Regions from separate parts of the Homo sapiens genome. Here all the other regions are linked to region 5. The links are contacts of gene promoters, found by promoter capture Hi-C in human tissues and cell types (Jung and others, 2019). All regions are on one chromosome and are shown on one strand. The core of a region is centred on a gene start or on the middle of the fragment in contact, and the rest is flanking DNA. Distances in the headings are between cores, read along the strand shown. Region 1 holds the start of MBD3L3 (methyl-CpG binding domain protein 3 like 3). Region 2 holds the start of FUT6 (fucosyltransferase 6). Region 3 overlaps INSR (insulin receptor). Region 4 holds the start of PRR22 (proline rich 22). Region 5 holds the start of KHSRP (KH-type splicing regulatory protein).

Region 1 (2,700 bases), core at 14-2,513, 630 kb after region 5:
TCTCTTTCTGCTGTGCTTCAGGACACAACGTCATTTTCATAGCTCCTTGACTCTCTGGTTTCCAAAGAAATCCTGCACTCGCCACCTTAAATACTCACTGCCACACCCAGATCCCACCTTCACCTGAACACCTCCTGCTCATGAAGAAAAACCTCAGAAACACCATGTTGCTTTCTGTTTCTAATAAGCTCAATTAACTAGAGGTATACCATGAGAGAATCTTTTGATGACATACTGAGAAAGATGATCAAGCGCCTCCTAAGATTTGACGTCCTTTCTTGCTCTAACTCAATTGGAAGACTCTAGTCTCATAAAGCTGTTTCCCCCACAAACCTCATCAGTGCACTTTCCATTTTAAAGCCTTTGTTTCTGTCCTCCTCATTTCATTTTTCGTTGTCCTGGCATAAAGATTAATACTACCCCTTACAGTACCCCTGGCATAAAGATTAATACTGACCCAAGATGTTCCCCTTTGGAGGGAAAATTATTTAGTCCCCTTAGTTACGGGGCACTTATGATGTGCCAAGCTGTGCAGTAGAACCCCTGATCCAGAAGTAAACTTCATAAATCACCACTCTGTTGATTTTCATCTTGGTGAGAAGGAAGACATAATAAACGCACTAAAAACAAATTTCTGGTGGAATATCAGATATAAGTAAGTTCCATGATGAAGAAGAAGGGAGTGACAGAGAGGGATGGAAGGAGGAGAAACAGAGAAACAGAAAAGAAATTCACTACAATGAATCGTGACAGTGAGTTTAGGGAATAAGCAACTCATCATGAAATTTTACCAGAGAACTAATTTTTTTTGTTTTTTGTTTTTTTAAAAAAACGGACCAAGCAATTTCTGGTTCAGGAGCTTTCCAGAGAAGGAGACAATTTGAAGACTGCAAGGCCAAATCATACTTCTTCCCTTTCCTAGTGATGTTGGATTTTTAAAAAAAAATTCAAAGCTATTATCCCCATACAGTTTCATGGGCAAAAATGAGAATACTTTGAACATTATTCAACAGATATTACCACCTGAGGTATAACTTTCCACAACATCCAGTTTTAAGAACAACCCACTGCTAACTGTAAAGCTGTCTTACAGAAGGAAAAAGGACACATATGGACATTCCTGTAATCAATAAATATCCCGTACTCACCAGAACAGGTGGGCTCGGAAAAGAGGTGAACGCAGGCTCTCCCATAGCCGTAGAGTTTCTCTTGCTGACCCCACTCTTGAGATGCAGACAACCCTTGGCTTGCCGGAAAATGCAGTGACTTCTGCATCTGGTTCCCCTTTTTATAGAGAAAGCGAGTGATAATGCAATCAGTGGATAATCCACAGGGAACACCCTGTCTCCGCCCATTGGATTTGAGGCATTTCTAAATCTTTATACAGAAACCAATGTGGTGTTACCTACACAGAGTGTTAGTAGAGAAAGAATTGAATACGTGTGTATGTGTGTGTGGCGGGGTGGTATTTACAGTTAATATCAGCATTTTAGATATGTTTCCCTTTTTCTCCCAGTTTTCCAAACATCTTTGAATACTTTCTATAGAAATAGGAATGGAATTGTCTATGTACATAAATGTTCACGTAATATTTGATTTAATAACAACAACTAAAGACCATTTAAATGTTCTTTAAGAAAAGAAAGCCCAAAACTTTTATTCACAATCCTATAGAATATATCACACAGTTGTTGCAAAGAAATTACTACTTTGGCCGGGAGAGGTGGCTTACGCCTATAATCCCAGCACTTTGGGAGACCAAGGCAGGTAGATCACCTGAGGTCAAGAGTTCGAGACCAGCCTGGCCAACATGGTGAAACCCCATTTCTACTAAAAATACAAAACTTACCCTGGTGTGGTGGCATGCACCTGTAATCCCAGCTACTCGGGAGGCTGAGGCAGGAGAATCGCTTGAACCTGGGAGGGAGAGGTTGCGGTGAGCCGAGATCGCACCACTGCAGCTCAGCATGGGCGACAGAGTGAGACTCCATCTCAAAAAAAAAAAAAAAAAAAAGTTCTATTTCGTGCATTTACATTTAATATAATTACCAGTAAATTTGAAATTGTTTCAATCATCTCATTTTTCCTAGGTTTTGACTTAACTGACTCACGTTCCTTTTGCCTTTACTTGACTGACTTTGAATTAAATATGTTTATTATTTTATTGTTATCTCCATGAACTTGCTAGTTACAGCCATACAAATCTGTGTAGTTATGCTAATAATTAAATCATATACTCTGATACAATTAATTACTTTAACCCCTCCCACAAAATGCTAATACTTTAGAACACTTTTAATTCTCTTTTTAGCTGTTTCTGACTTTTGTATTACCATTCTCATGCATATTAATTCTACACATATTTTACTCTCCAGGAGACATTTCTAGTATTGCTTCATAAAGCAATATGCACTAATATTTACCTACAGCTTATCTTGTGCATTCATCTTTGTTCCTTTCTGCATTTCTAGCATTCAATCTGGGATTATTTCCCTGTGGACTTGAGAATTCATTCTAGTATTTTTCTTCTAATTCAATGCTGCTAACAACTAATTGTTTTCCTTTACACTTTTATTTAGGCATCTTTATTTGGGGGCAATATTGCTGTCAGGTACGGGTGTCTGGTTTGACAAATTTCTTTCAGCATATTAGAAATGGTGCCCCACTGATGTCTATCTCATTTTACCTGTGTTGAGATGT
Region 2 (2,700 bases), core at 5-2,504, 590 kb before region 5:
ACCTCGGTGCATCCAGAAAGACCCCTGCCTGCGACTAGGGGCTGCTGGCCAAATGCCAGGCCACTGCACAGCCTGCAGACCCTCCCCCAGGGATCTTGTGCCAGCCCACCCGCACTCTGAATTACAGCAGACAGGACTGAGGCTGAGGGGAGGAGGCTCGGAGCCAGGAGGCCTTTCCCTGGACCCATGCGATCCGGGTTGGGGGTGAAAGTGGGACAAGAGGCCTTACCTGGGGGGGCCAGTGTGCAGAGGGCCCTAGAGCTGAGAGGCCGCGGACGGAGTAACAGCTGGATTCTGAGGACGTGGAAGAGGCCACACCACGCAGCAGAAGGAAGGAGGAAGTGTACCCGGAGCTGAAACCAGGCCCTTTCCAACCACCACACCTGTCATCAGGTGACCCAGGGCATCCTGTCCTGGAGCCCGGACATCCTTTGAAAACAAATCGTGGGGCTCCCCTAATCCCCGTTGCAGAACCAAACAGGGTGAAGGGATTTGGAGACTCAGGTCATGCATGACCTTGCCCCACCTGTGGCTTCAATGCGATGTGGCTTTGAGTACAAAGTGAAAAGGCTGACCTGAACCACCGGTTCCCAAAGCGGGTTCCACAGGGACACCAGGGGTTCCTTGGGAGGTGGGAATGAGGAAGTGAGCAGAATTTCTACCTTTCCGCTTTCCTTCCCACCAGATCCCACCTTCTCACTCAGTTGGCCCATCACCAAATATTTCCTGAGCACTAAGTGCCAGGCCAAGGGATCTTGCAGGAAACCGGTGGGCAAGTCAGGCAACTCATGAACCTTGGAAGGGAACTTTCTTCAATTAAAATTGCAGCCTTTTGAATAAAAAAGGGATGGAAGGGCATTCCAGTTACAAGGAACAACCTTCGCAAAGGCCCTGAGGCAGCAGAAATGCAGGCATGTTGAGGAACTGCAGGAGGAGTCTCAGCAGGCTGGGTCTTCACCACTGGAGAGGAGGCAGAGCTGTTGCAGAGGCTGGGCCACGGTCAGCCATAGGGTGTTCAGCACCAAGGCAATAGGGAGCCATGTGAGGCTTCAAGCAGAGGGGTTACCATGTCGATACATGTTTTCAGATGCTCTCTTCTGGTAGGCTGGGCACAGGTCCCATATTGGTGGCAGAAGCTTCCTCCGGTGGCCTCAACAAGCCCCTCTGTGTGCCTCAAAGCCACTTCCTTTCCCCACCCACTCCTGCAGGGCAGTGCAAAGCAGAAGTCCAGGGAGCTATGCAAACTTCCTGGAATGGAGAGAAATGATCTGGAATACTGGTTTTGAGGGAGGATGACCTTAAACTCTCTCACTCCCAAGCTGGGTGCAAAGGTGACCGAGCTCAAAGCCCAGCCTCCAAGTATCACGACTGCCCTGTTCTAGAAATCATTTCTGGGAGGCTGCATCATGCTGCCTGAGTTCTACTATCTCAGTGCCCAGCCACGCCCAGACCAGTGAGGTTCTGGGAGGTAGGGATGGGCCAGGGGGTTGGGGTCTCCCAGAGCTCCAGAAGTGGCAACCTAATTCCACTCATGTCTCATTCCTTGACTGGTGAGGTTGACTGTAACTTATTAAAAAAATGACTTCTGGGGGCCGGGCGTGGTGGCTCACGCCTGTAATCCCAACACTTTGGGAGGCCGAGGTGGGCAGATCACGAGATCAGAAGATCAAGACCATCCATCCTGACTAACATGGTGAAACCCTGTCTCTACTAAAAATACAAAAAAATTAGCCAGGCGTGGTAGTGGGTGCCTGTAGTCCCAGCTACTTGGGAGGCTGAGGCAGGAGAATGGTGTGAACCCGGGAGGCGGAGCTTGCAGTGAGCCTAGATTGAGCCACTGCACTCCAGCCTGGGCGACAGTGCAAGACTCTGTCTCAAAAAAAAAAAAAAAAAAAAAAAAGACTTCTGAGGCCATGCACAGTGACTCACACCTGTAATCCCAACAGTTTGGGAAGGAGAGGCAGGAAGATCGCTTGAGCCCAGGAGTCTGAGACCAGCCTAGGGAAAACAGAGATACCCCTATCTCTCTCTTTTTTTTGAGATGGAATCTTGCTCTGTCACTCGGGCTGGAGTGCAGTGGCACAGTCTCAGTTTACTGTAACCTATGCCTCCCGGGCTCAAGCGATTCTCATGCCCCAGCCTCCCGAGTAGCTGGGACTACAGGCGCGTGACACGGCACTGGGTAACTTTCGTATTTTTTTAATAGAGCTGGTTTTCGCCATGTTAGCCAGGCTGATCTTGACCTCCTGACTTCAGGTGATCTGTCTGCCTCAGCCTCCTAAAGTACTGGGATTAGAGGCCAGGCATGAGCCACTCCGCCCAGCTGGGTTTTTTTTCTTTTTTTTTTTTGAGACAGAGTCTCGCTCTGTGGCCCAGGCTGGAGTGCAGTGGCACGATCTCGGCTCATGGCAAGCTCTGCCTCCTGGGTTCACGCCATTCTCCTGCCCCAAGTAGCTGGGACTACAGGCGTCCGCCATCACGCCCAGCTAATTTTTTTTTTTTTTTTTGTATTTTTAGTAGAGACATGTTAGCCAGGATGGTCTCGATCTCCTGACCTTGTGATCCGCCCGCCTCGGCCTCCCAAAGTGCTGGGATTACAGGCGTGAGCCACCACGCCCCGCCCCCAGCTGGGTTGTTTCTTAAGGATTCAAAATCCAAAGGTAGGTCTCTAGTGAGGGACAGTAGGGCTCTAGTCATTCC
Region 3 (2,700 bases), core at 92-2,591, 760 kb after region 5:
AGGTTTATTTTCATTCTGTGAGTTCCTTCTAGTAAATTATGAAACCCAAACAGTTTGTGGGAATCCCCCAATTTAGAGCCAGTTAGTCAGAAGTGTGGGTGGCTGGGGGATCCCCAAGATGCTGCCAGTGTCTGAAGCAAGGGAAATCTCATGGAGGGCTGAGCCTTAAACTTGTGGCGTCTGATGCTAACTTTGGAGGAGGATGGTGTCAGAACGGTGTTGCAAGTACACCCAGGTAGTGGCAGAACAGCTGAGGCAGAAACAAAATACTGACCAAATGTTTGACTTCTTTTATTGCCTCTATTCTTATTATGTGGCAGGCAATGCTCTAAGCCTGGAGTTGGCAAACAGTGGGCTGGGAGCCAAATCCAGTAGGCCACCTGTTTTTGCAAATAATATCCTATTGGAATATGGCCACATTTATTGGTTAGTACATCGTCTAACCCTGCTTTCACGCTGCAAAGGCAGAGTTAAGTAGCTCCAACAGAGACCATATGGCCCTGAGAGCTGAAAATATTTACTATCTGGCCCTTGGCCAACCCCCGTTCTCAGCTGCCGGTATACATGAGTGAACAAAGCAGATAATATGCTTTCCCAGTGGGAAATTATAAATGACCATGAGTTCTTTGCAGCCTCTCCCACCAAGAAGTGGAGTCTATGTTCCCACCTGTTGAATCTGGGCTTGGCCATATGGCTTGCTTTGGCCAATGGAATATTTGCAAACGTGATACAAGCTGAGGCTTGAAAAGCACTTGAACATTGAGGTCTGCCCTTCCTGGCTGCTGGGGTAAGAGACTTATGGAGAGAGACCCCCACTGACCATCAAAGACACAAGAGGCTCCCCTAAACCATCAGCCGTAGCTAAACAGGCCCAGGCCAGACAAACCTTCAGTCAACACATGAAATCATCAGAGCTCCTAAAGGAGTGTTTTAAGCCACTAAGCACTGAGGTGGTTTTGTTACGCAACAAGAGCTAGCTGATACACTCACAAAGCTTATCATCTGGTTGGGGAGAGTGAATAAATTGACAACAAAGGCTAGGTACAGTGGCTCAGGCCCTGTAATCTCAGCACTTTGGGAAGCCAAGGTGGGAGGATCACTTAAACCCAGGAGTTCAAGACGAGCCTGGGGAATATAGCAAGACCCCCAACACTACAGAATTTTTTTTTAGCCAGGTGTGGTGGTGTGTGCCTATATAGTCCCAGCTACTCAGGAGGCTGTGGCAGGAGGATCTCTTGAGCCCAGGGGGTTGAGACCACAGTGAGCCATGTGGGTGCCACTGCACTCTAGCCTGGGTGACAGACCAAGACCTTGTCTCAAAAAAAAAAAAAAAAGACAAAAATATCAGCTAGTGACAAATCGAAGAGTTAAAACTAAATGATGTGACAGAGAGTGCACGGATGATTGACTCAGACGGGAAGGATTTGCCAAGGAGGTGACTTTTAAGCTGCCATCTAGATGACGAGGGGAAAAAGTGGATCATTCTCAAATGCAGGGACAAGCATTATAGGAAGAGGGAACAGCTAATTGAAAGGCACAGAGGAAAGCGGATGTAGCAAGTTGCAGGAAAAGCTCCTGCGGTAACGACCACCACGGCCAGGGGGCACCGGAATGAAATGAGAATGAGAACTGGCCGAGCCCTCCCGATGAGGAGTTTGGATTCTGTCCATTGGTCTTGGGAAGCCACCGGAGGGTTTTAGGGAAGGACATGGCATATGATCAGATGACCACTTTTATTTTTTCTTTTGAGACAGAGTCTCACTCTGTCACCGAGACTGCAGTGCAGTGGCACACTCTCGGCTCACTGCGACCTCCACCTCCCGGGTTCAAGCAATTCTGCTGTCTCAGCCTCCCGAGTAGCTGGGATTACAGGCGCCCACTGTAATCCCACGCCTGGCTAATTTTTGTATTTTTAGTAGAGATGGGGTTTCACCATGTTGGTCAGGCTGGTCTCGAACTCCTGACCTCAGGTGATCCACCCACCTCGGCCTCCCAAAGTGCTGGGGTTATAGGCGTGAGCCACCGCGCCTGGCCCAGGTGGCCACTTTTTACCAGTGTCACTAGAATGGAAGCAGGAGCAAAGAGATTGTTCAAGGGGACTGGGTCAGACCAGACATGATGGTGAAATAGATGGAGGTGTAGACAAATTTGAGACCTCAGCTTAATAGGAAGAAGTGAGAGAGGCCAAGAAGAATCAAGGATTTTAGGTAATTCTCCCCTTCCCAGTGGATACCCCATACGCATTGAAAATTTATTCATCACAAATATCTGGTCCTTCTCATCTCAGGAAGCAGCACTGTGCTATTACATCCCAGCAGGTACTTTGGAACGACAGTAGATGGTGAGACCTTTTTTTTTTTTTTTTTGGAGATGCAGTTTCACTCTTGTCACACTTGCCTGGGGGCTAACGTGCAATGGCGTGATCTCAGCTCACTGCAACCTCTGCCTCCTGGGTTCAAGCAATTCTCATGCCTCAGCCTCCCGAGTAGCTGGGATAACAGGTATGCATCACCATGCCCAGCTAATTTTTTTTTTGTTTTTGTATTTTTAGTAAAGACGGGGTTTCACCGTGGTGGCCAGGCTGACCTTGAACTCCTGCCCTCAGATGATCCGTCCACTTCGGCCTCCCAAAGTGCTGGGATTACAGGCATAAGCCACTGTGCCTGGCCAAGGCCTTTTAACATGGGTTCCCAGAACTCT
Region 4 (2,700 bases), core at 47-2,546, 640 kb before region 5:
GCTCCCAGCAGGGCCCCCTCCTTGACCTCGGCCACCTTGAGCTCGCTGAGGCCCGGTGGGTACAGGGGCACCCCAGGTCGGGCCCCACTGCCCTGCAGCTCCTTGACGGGGAAGGCCAGGGGTTCGGGCCCAGGGAAGTGGCCGAGGTGACCCTGGAGGTGGCTGTAGGCGTCTGGGGGCAGTGTGGGCTCTGCAGGCAGCGTGATGAGTACAGGGGGCGGCTTGTTCTCCTTGGGGGGTGGGGGTGGCAGCGGGGCCGGGCCTTCCTCTAGGGGCGGTAGGGGCAGCTCCACGAAGGCGGCGGGCCCTGCGTCCCCCACAAAACCCAGAGCCTCTGGCCCGGGGCCCTCAGGCGGGAAGTAGGGCAAGAGAAACTGGGGCCCCCCGGGTGCCTGCTGGTAGTGGGGGTATGGAGGCAGCCCCGGGGCCTTGAGGTAGGGCTGAGGCTCCAGGAGGTAGCTGCCTGGGGCGGAGGGGACCCCCGCTGGCCCCCCGCTGCTTGCTGCCAGCTTATACAGGGCTGACTGGCCCAGGTCGGGGGTGGTCCACTCGATCCGATAGATGCGGGGGTCGAAGAAGCACCCGCATGGGGCCATCTGGAAACCTGTGGGCGGCAGGCGGGTGCCCTGAGAGCAGCTGCTGCCTGAGGGGCCCAGCCCAAGCCTGGGGGCCTGTTTGGGAGATGCCACAAGAACCTTGCCATTGGGGGGCCCCTTTGGGGGACGACATAGATATTGCTTTGGGGCCCTGGCTGGGTGATGGATGACACAGAGCTTGTCTTTGGGGCTCATCTGGGGGACCTGTGTGAAGCATGGGGAGCAGAGGCCATGCCTTCAGGCTCCCACTTAGGGACGGGGCAGGGGCAAGATGGGCCTGCACACTCAAACCCACTCCCAGCCTCGTCAAGGGCTCAGGGGAGGCCGGTACCTGCTGGTGGGGCTGGAAACACCTCTTTCTCTGGGTCTGGGGGATGATACAGGTTCAAGGAGCCTGTGGACAAAGGTGCCCAGGTGGGTAGGGCCCTTAGGCGGGTGGGCCCCTGAACCCTCTCCAGCAGGTGCTCCCACCCACCCGATCGTACCCATAGCGGGAGGAGGCTCGGCACAGGTGGGAGCAGGCTGGTTGCCCAGCACCTCAGCCCCCTCCAGACTCTGCGGGCTGAAACCTTCCTGGGGAGCTGCAGGGGCACAGAACGGTTTGGGGTGCTGCATGGGGCAGCGGGGGGCCCGGTCCAGACAGGCCAGGAGGGCGGCAGTGGGAGTGCAAGTGGCCCAACCGGAGAACAGGCTGAGAACCTGGTGGGGTTCTGTTTGCCTGGTTACTCGGGGCAGCGGGTTCCAGCCTGCAGCGCGCCCACTGGTTGGGGTTCTGGGTGTTGGGGGCAAGCAGGGGCAGACGTTGGCAGACATGGTCATCACCATGGGAGGGAGGATTCTGGGCCAGGCCTTTGCCTCTTCCAGCAACACCCCCCTAACAGCTTTGAGGCCGCCTCCTCCAGGCAGGCTGCCCTGATCCACACCCACACAGGCTGAGGCCCCCCGGGTCCTCAACCCGCTACCTTCTTGGGGGTCAAGGCCTCTCTGGGCACCAGCAGCACCCAGCTTGGGGCAGGGCCCATGGAGGCAGCTAAGAGGTTTGGGGAAGGTGGGGGCCGAGGAGGGGCTGCTTCAGGGTCACAGAAAGGCCTGGATTTTAAAAGAATAAAATTTATTGTACTCTCCTCGCCCCAGGGTGCCCCTGGGAAAGCCTGAGGCTACTTGTACGCGTTGGCCTTGTGCTTCGGCAAGAAGGCGAAGCTGGGGGGCACTGGCCCAAGGAGCATCTCGCTGTGGGAGAGCAGGTGGAAAGCGAGGTCAGGCCCAGGACCTGCAAAGTACCCTCCGTGACCCCGGGCCCCCGACTGCAGCTCCCCAACTCCAGCCCACCCAGGCACCTGATGCGGATCCAGTCGGCTGCCTTCTGGCTGGCCATCAGCGTCTCCAGGTAGTCGCGGCCCAGGTAGTAGGGCGGCCGCTCGTTGATCCTCTGTGGGAGCCGCTCCAGCAGCCCCACGGGCACGTACCTGCGGCGGGTGGGCGGGCAGGACAGGCTTGAGTCAGCTCTAACCAGCCGCGGCCCACGCGCCGCCCACCCCAGCCAGCCCCGGTGCCCACCGGCACAGGAAGGACAGCCACTCGAGCAGAAAGCGCCGGGTCTTCTCCACGCCCTGCGTGTCCGAGCCCCAGTGCTCCAGGCCGTAGTTGGTGAAGTCCCGCAGGATGTCCAGGCGCTCGGACGACGAGATGTCCCAGTGCCGCTGCTCCTTGATCTCCGTGAAGAGCCACGGCTTGAGCAGGGCGCCACTGTGGGACGGGTGACGATCAGTGGGCCCAGCCACCAGCCTGCCTGGGATCGTGTGGCCTCTGCTTCCATGGCCTGGCCTGAGCCGGAGCCCAGACCACAAAACCTACAAGCCTAGTAAGCCTCCCAGCTGCATGCACACAACCTTCAAAGCACAGGACTTTCTTTTGTTTTTTCTGAGACGGAGTCTGGCTCTGTCGCCCAGGCTGGGGTGCAGTGGTAAGATCTCGGCTCACTGTTCAACCTCCGTCTCCCAGGTTCAGGCAATTGTCCTGCCTCAGCCTCCCTAGTAGTTGGGATTACAGGCGTGTACCACTACACCTGGCTAATTTTTGTATTTTTAATAGAGATGTTTCACCA
Region 5 (2,700 bases), core at 200-2,699:
TCAACCCAGCAAACTTAGGATCAGAGTCTGGGGTTTAGAAACCCAAACCATGTTAAGAATCTCCCTTTCCACCAGTCTCCATTTTTCTACGCTGCCCTAGAGCCAAAACTCATGGGATGCCCACAGGGGGCCTGTCCCCACCAACTGACAGCACCAGCTTCCTCCCTTCAAGCTGTCCCAGAATCAGACGGTTCCATGGGCAATAAGACCAAATGCACGCTAGAACCCACCCAACTCCAAGGGTGAGAGAGACGACAGAGGGCCAGAACACAGGCGTTCACTTAACGGGACCTCCCACCTTGGGAGGAGCCAGTCTCTAGCCCCGGAGGCATTGGGACAGCCCAGGAGCCGGTCGGCGGCAAAGTCCTCCCATTCTACCGACCCCCACCCCTCCAGGCCATGGGGAGGCTGCAAATGGAGCTGGAGAGGTCAGTCCTAGCAGCATGTGACACTTCCTTGTCATTACGCCTCAATACACGGGGGTGGGAGACCCTCCCTTCTTTCCCCCAAAGAGACAGACCACGCTTTCAAGCCACCAAAGCATCCAAGAGCCAGTCCCCATGCTCGTCTTCCCCATTTCGCCCAAGTGCTCAGCCCTAGACAGGTCCCCATCCACTTTCCCGACTGAAGAGGAAGGACTGTCCCTCCCACCCCCACAATGTCCCTTTCTCCTAGAGAGGGGACAGAAATGGGACTGGGTTGGGGGCAAACACTGCCCTTTGCCCTGATATGGAGGGGAGAGTAAAGGCCCTCCGCCCGGGAAGGTGGACCCCTGCCTCCAGGCATGTCCTAAGGCCGGGGGGCTAAGGGGGGGGTCCCAAAAGTGCGTCTCCGAGCTCCGGGGCGCCTGCACACCCAGGCGCCGCTCCTGGTGACCCCCAGTGCGCCCCTACTCCCTGCAGGGGGGTCACCCGTTGGGATCCCACTCGAGGCGCAGCGGGAGGGCCAGGCCCCCGCCTACCGCCCACGTGACCCCGCGACGGCCCCGGCCCCCCTCCGCGACCCTGCGCGCGCGCGCGCACGTGACCCCCGCCCCCTCCCCCGCCTGCGCGCGCGCGCGAGCGCGCCCCTCAGGCCCTCGGCCTCCTCACCTGGCGGGCCCGCTGCACGGCGTCGGCGAAAGCGTCCTTGCGGATTCCCGGGCCGCCTCCGCCGGGTGGCTGAGAGGGGCCCCCGGCCGACCCCCCGCCCGGGCCGCCGCCGCCGGGACCGCCGCCGCCCCGGTCCCCCGCGCCTGGCGGGCCCGGCGGAGGGCCTCCCCCGGCGCCTCCGGCTCCCCCGCCCCCGCCGGCGGGCGGCGGCGGCCCGGGCGGGGGTCCTCCCGTGCTGTAGTCCGACATGGCGCGGCGGGGCCGGGCCTGGCGCGGAGGCTGAAGCTGAGGAGGCGGCGGCGGCGGCGGCGGCTCAACGCGGGAACAAGGCCTCGCTCCACACGGCCGCGGAGCACTCTGGGAACCCAGCCGCTGGGAGGACGACGAGGGGGGAGAGAGTCGCCCCTCCCGCCGCCGACGTGACGGACGACTCCGGCGGGCCAATGGGAGGCAGCCGCCGCACCCCGGACACCAATCGCGAGCTCTGTAGGAGGTGGCCAATCGGAGTGCAATGAGGGGCAGTGGGCGGGAGGCTCAGAGTGACTGACAGCTCTCAGAGGCAATAGCTGCGAGCTGCCCGTGCTGGGCGGGCAAATGAAGGAGATCTGAGAAGGCAGGAGGCCCAATGAAACGCGAGTGCCAGATTCGCGGGGCGGCTTCAGAATTAGATTGACGGTTCTGAAGAGTCACGTGGACTGTAAGGCCGGGCCTAGTGGAAGACTCCTATGGACCGGCTGGGTGGGCGTTAGGTTTGATAGTCGTGGACACAAGCCAATGAATGCACGTGAGAGGTGGTGCTTGTAAAGATGGGCAGCCAATTAATCCAATTCCTGACGAGTTCTGGGTGATGAGGTTGGCTTTGGACTTTAATTGCTTCCCTTGTTAACCAGAATCCTTTTCTATCCCTGACTTCTAAGCCAATGGCTGAGCGACATGGGTGGGTGTTCGGTGACTGACACTGGTCTGGACAAATGGGAATGAAGGAAATCAAAGCGCCCACTTTTGGTGGGAGCCAGTGGAAGCGCCGCTGCATTGGGGCGGAGTCGGCCACCAGACAGCGAGGGGATTAGCGGGAACTGTAGTGAATGGCAGCCGACGTGGGCGGTGGCAATCGGCTGCCCGAACTCAGGCCTGATGTCTGGGTTAGCTCACCGGCAGCCTGGTTGGGTAGGCCCGGCACGTGGCCCGCTTGAAGCCTTAGAGATCGAGCGCTTCCGGAGGTGGGGAGGCCGGAAAGCAGGAAACTCGGGATCCCCCGGGCCTTCTTCTCTCTCGACCCCCCATCTAGAGCGTCCAGTTCTCTTGCAGGACTCAAGGAACCAGCCCCACTCACGAGTCCAGAACCGTTCCAACAACCGGGATCGAGGGATCACAGCCTCGATCACACCCCTCACTTCACACCCCTCACTCCCTTCGCCTAAGGCCCTGGGATCCAAGCCTCAAGCTCCTATCCTAGGTCCTCACTTCCTCTCCTGGACACAAATTCCCATTCAGGACCCAGAGGCCCAAGGTCCCCAGCTCCCCTACTGGGTCCAGGGATCTCATGCACCCAGTTCCACTCCTAGGCCCAAGTATCCAGACACGTTCAGCAAAAACCATCTCTTTATTC

The links. Contacts are between HindIII fragments. The study calls those that stand out against the background at their distance.
Region 1: the fragment with the promoter of MBD3L3 here is called in contact with the fragment with the promoter of KHSRP in region 5 in 1 of the 25 tissues and cell types used here (mesendoderm cells).
Region 2: a contact is called between the fragment with the promoter of FUT6 here and the fragment with the promoter of KHSRP in region 5, in 1 of the 25 tissues and cell types used here (neural progenitor cells).
Region 3: a fragment that was not itself captured here is called in contact with the fragment with the promoter of KHSRP in region 5 in 1 of the 25 tissues and cell types used here (spleen).
Region 4: the fragment with the promoter of PRR22 here is called in contact with the fragment with the promoter of KHSRP in region 5 in 1 of the 25 tissues and cell types used here (dorsolateral prefrontal cortex).

Annotation. Positions count from the first base shown.
Region 1 is chr19:7,057,413-7,060,112 of GRCh38, forward strand. It overlaps MBD3L3 (methyl-CpG binding domain protein 3 like 3), which reads right to left and starts at 1,264. Exons shown (of 2, transcript NM_001164425.4): 1 at 1,149-1,264. The coding sequence starts at 1,193. The HindIII fragment of the contact is 21,543 bases long and covers 1-2,700 here.
Region 2 is chr19:5,838,448-5,841,147 of GRCh38, forward strand. It overlaps FUT6 (fucosyltransferase 6), which reads right to left and starts at 1,255. Exons shown (of 3, transcript NM_000150.4): 1 at 230-1,255. The HindIII fragment of the contact is 16,612 bases long and covers 1-2,700 here.
Region 3 is chr19:7,179,212-7,181,911 of GRCh38, forward strand. The region is part of intron 3 of INSR (insulin receptor); the gene reads right to left. Among named protein-coding and RNA genes, the nearest start is that of ZNF557, 110 kb to the left of the region's middle. RefSeq lists an enhancer at 1-83. The HindIII fragment of the contact is 3,478 bases long and covers 1-2,700 here.
Region 4 is chr19:5,783,450-5,786,149 of GRCh38, forward strand. It overlaps PRR22 (proline rich 22), which reads right to left and starts at 1,297. Exons shown (of 3, transcript NM_001134316.2): 1 at 1,082-1,297; 2 at 928-990; 3 at 1-604. The coding sequence starts at 1,211. DUS3L (dihydrouridine synthase 3 like) reads right to left here. Exons shown (of 13, transcript NM_020175.3): 11 at 2,154-2,342; 12 at 1,934-2,062; 13 at 1,691-1,826. The coding sequence ends at 1,754. The HindIII fragment of the contact is 36,623 bases long and covers 1-2,700 here.
Region 5 is chr19:6,423,362-6,426,061 of GRCh38, forward strand. It overlaps KHSRP (KH-type splicing regulatory protein), which reads right to left and starts at 1,450. Exons shown (of 19, transcript NM_001366299.1): 1 at 1,092-1,450. The coding sequence starts at 1,340. SLC25A41 (solute carrier family 25 member 41) reads right to left here. Exons shown (of 7, transcript NM_173637.4): 7 at 2,676-2,700. RefSeq lists an enhancer at 1,758-1,877. The HindIII fragment of the contact is 26,210 bases long and covers 1-2,700 here.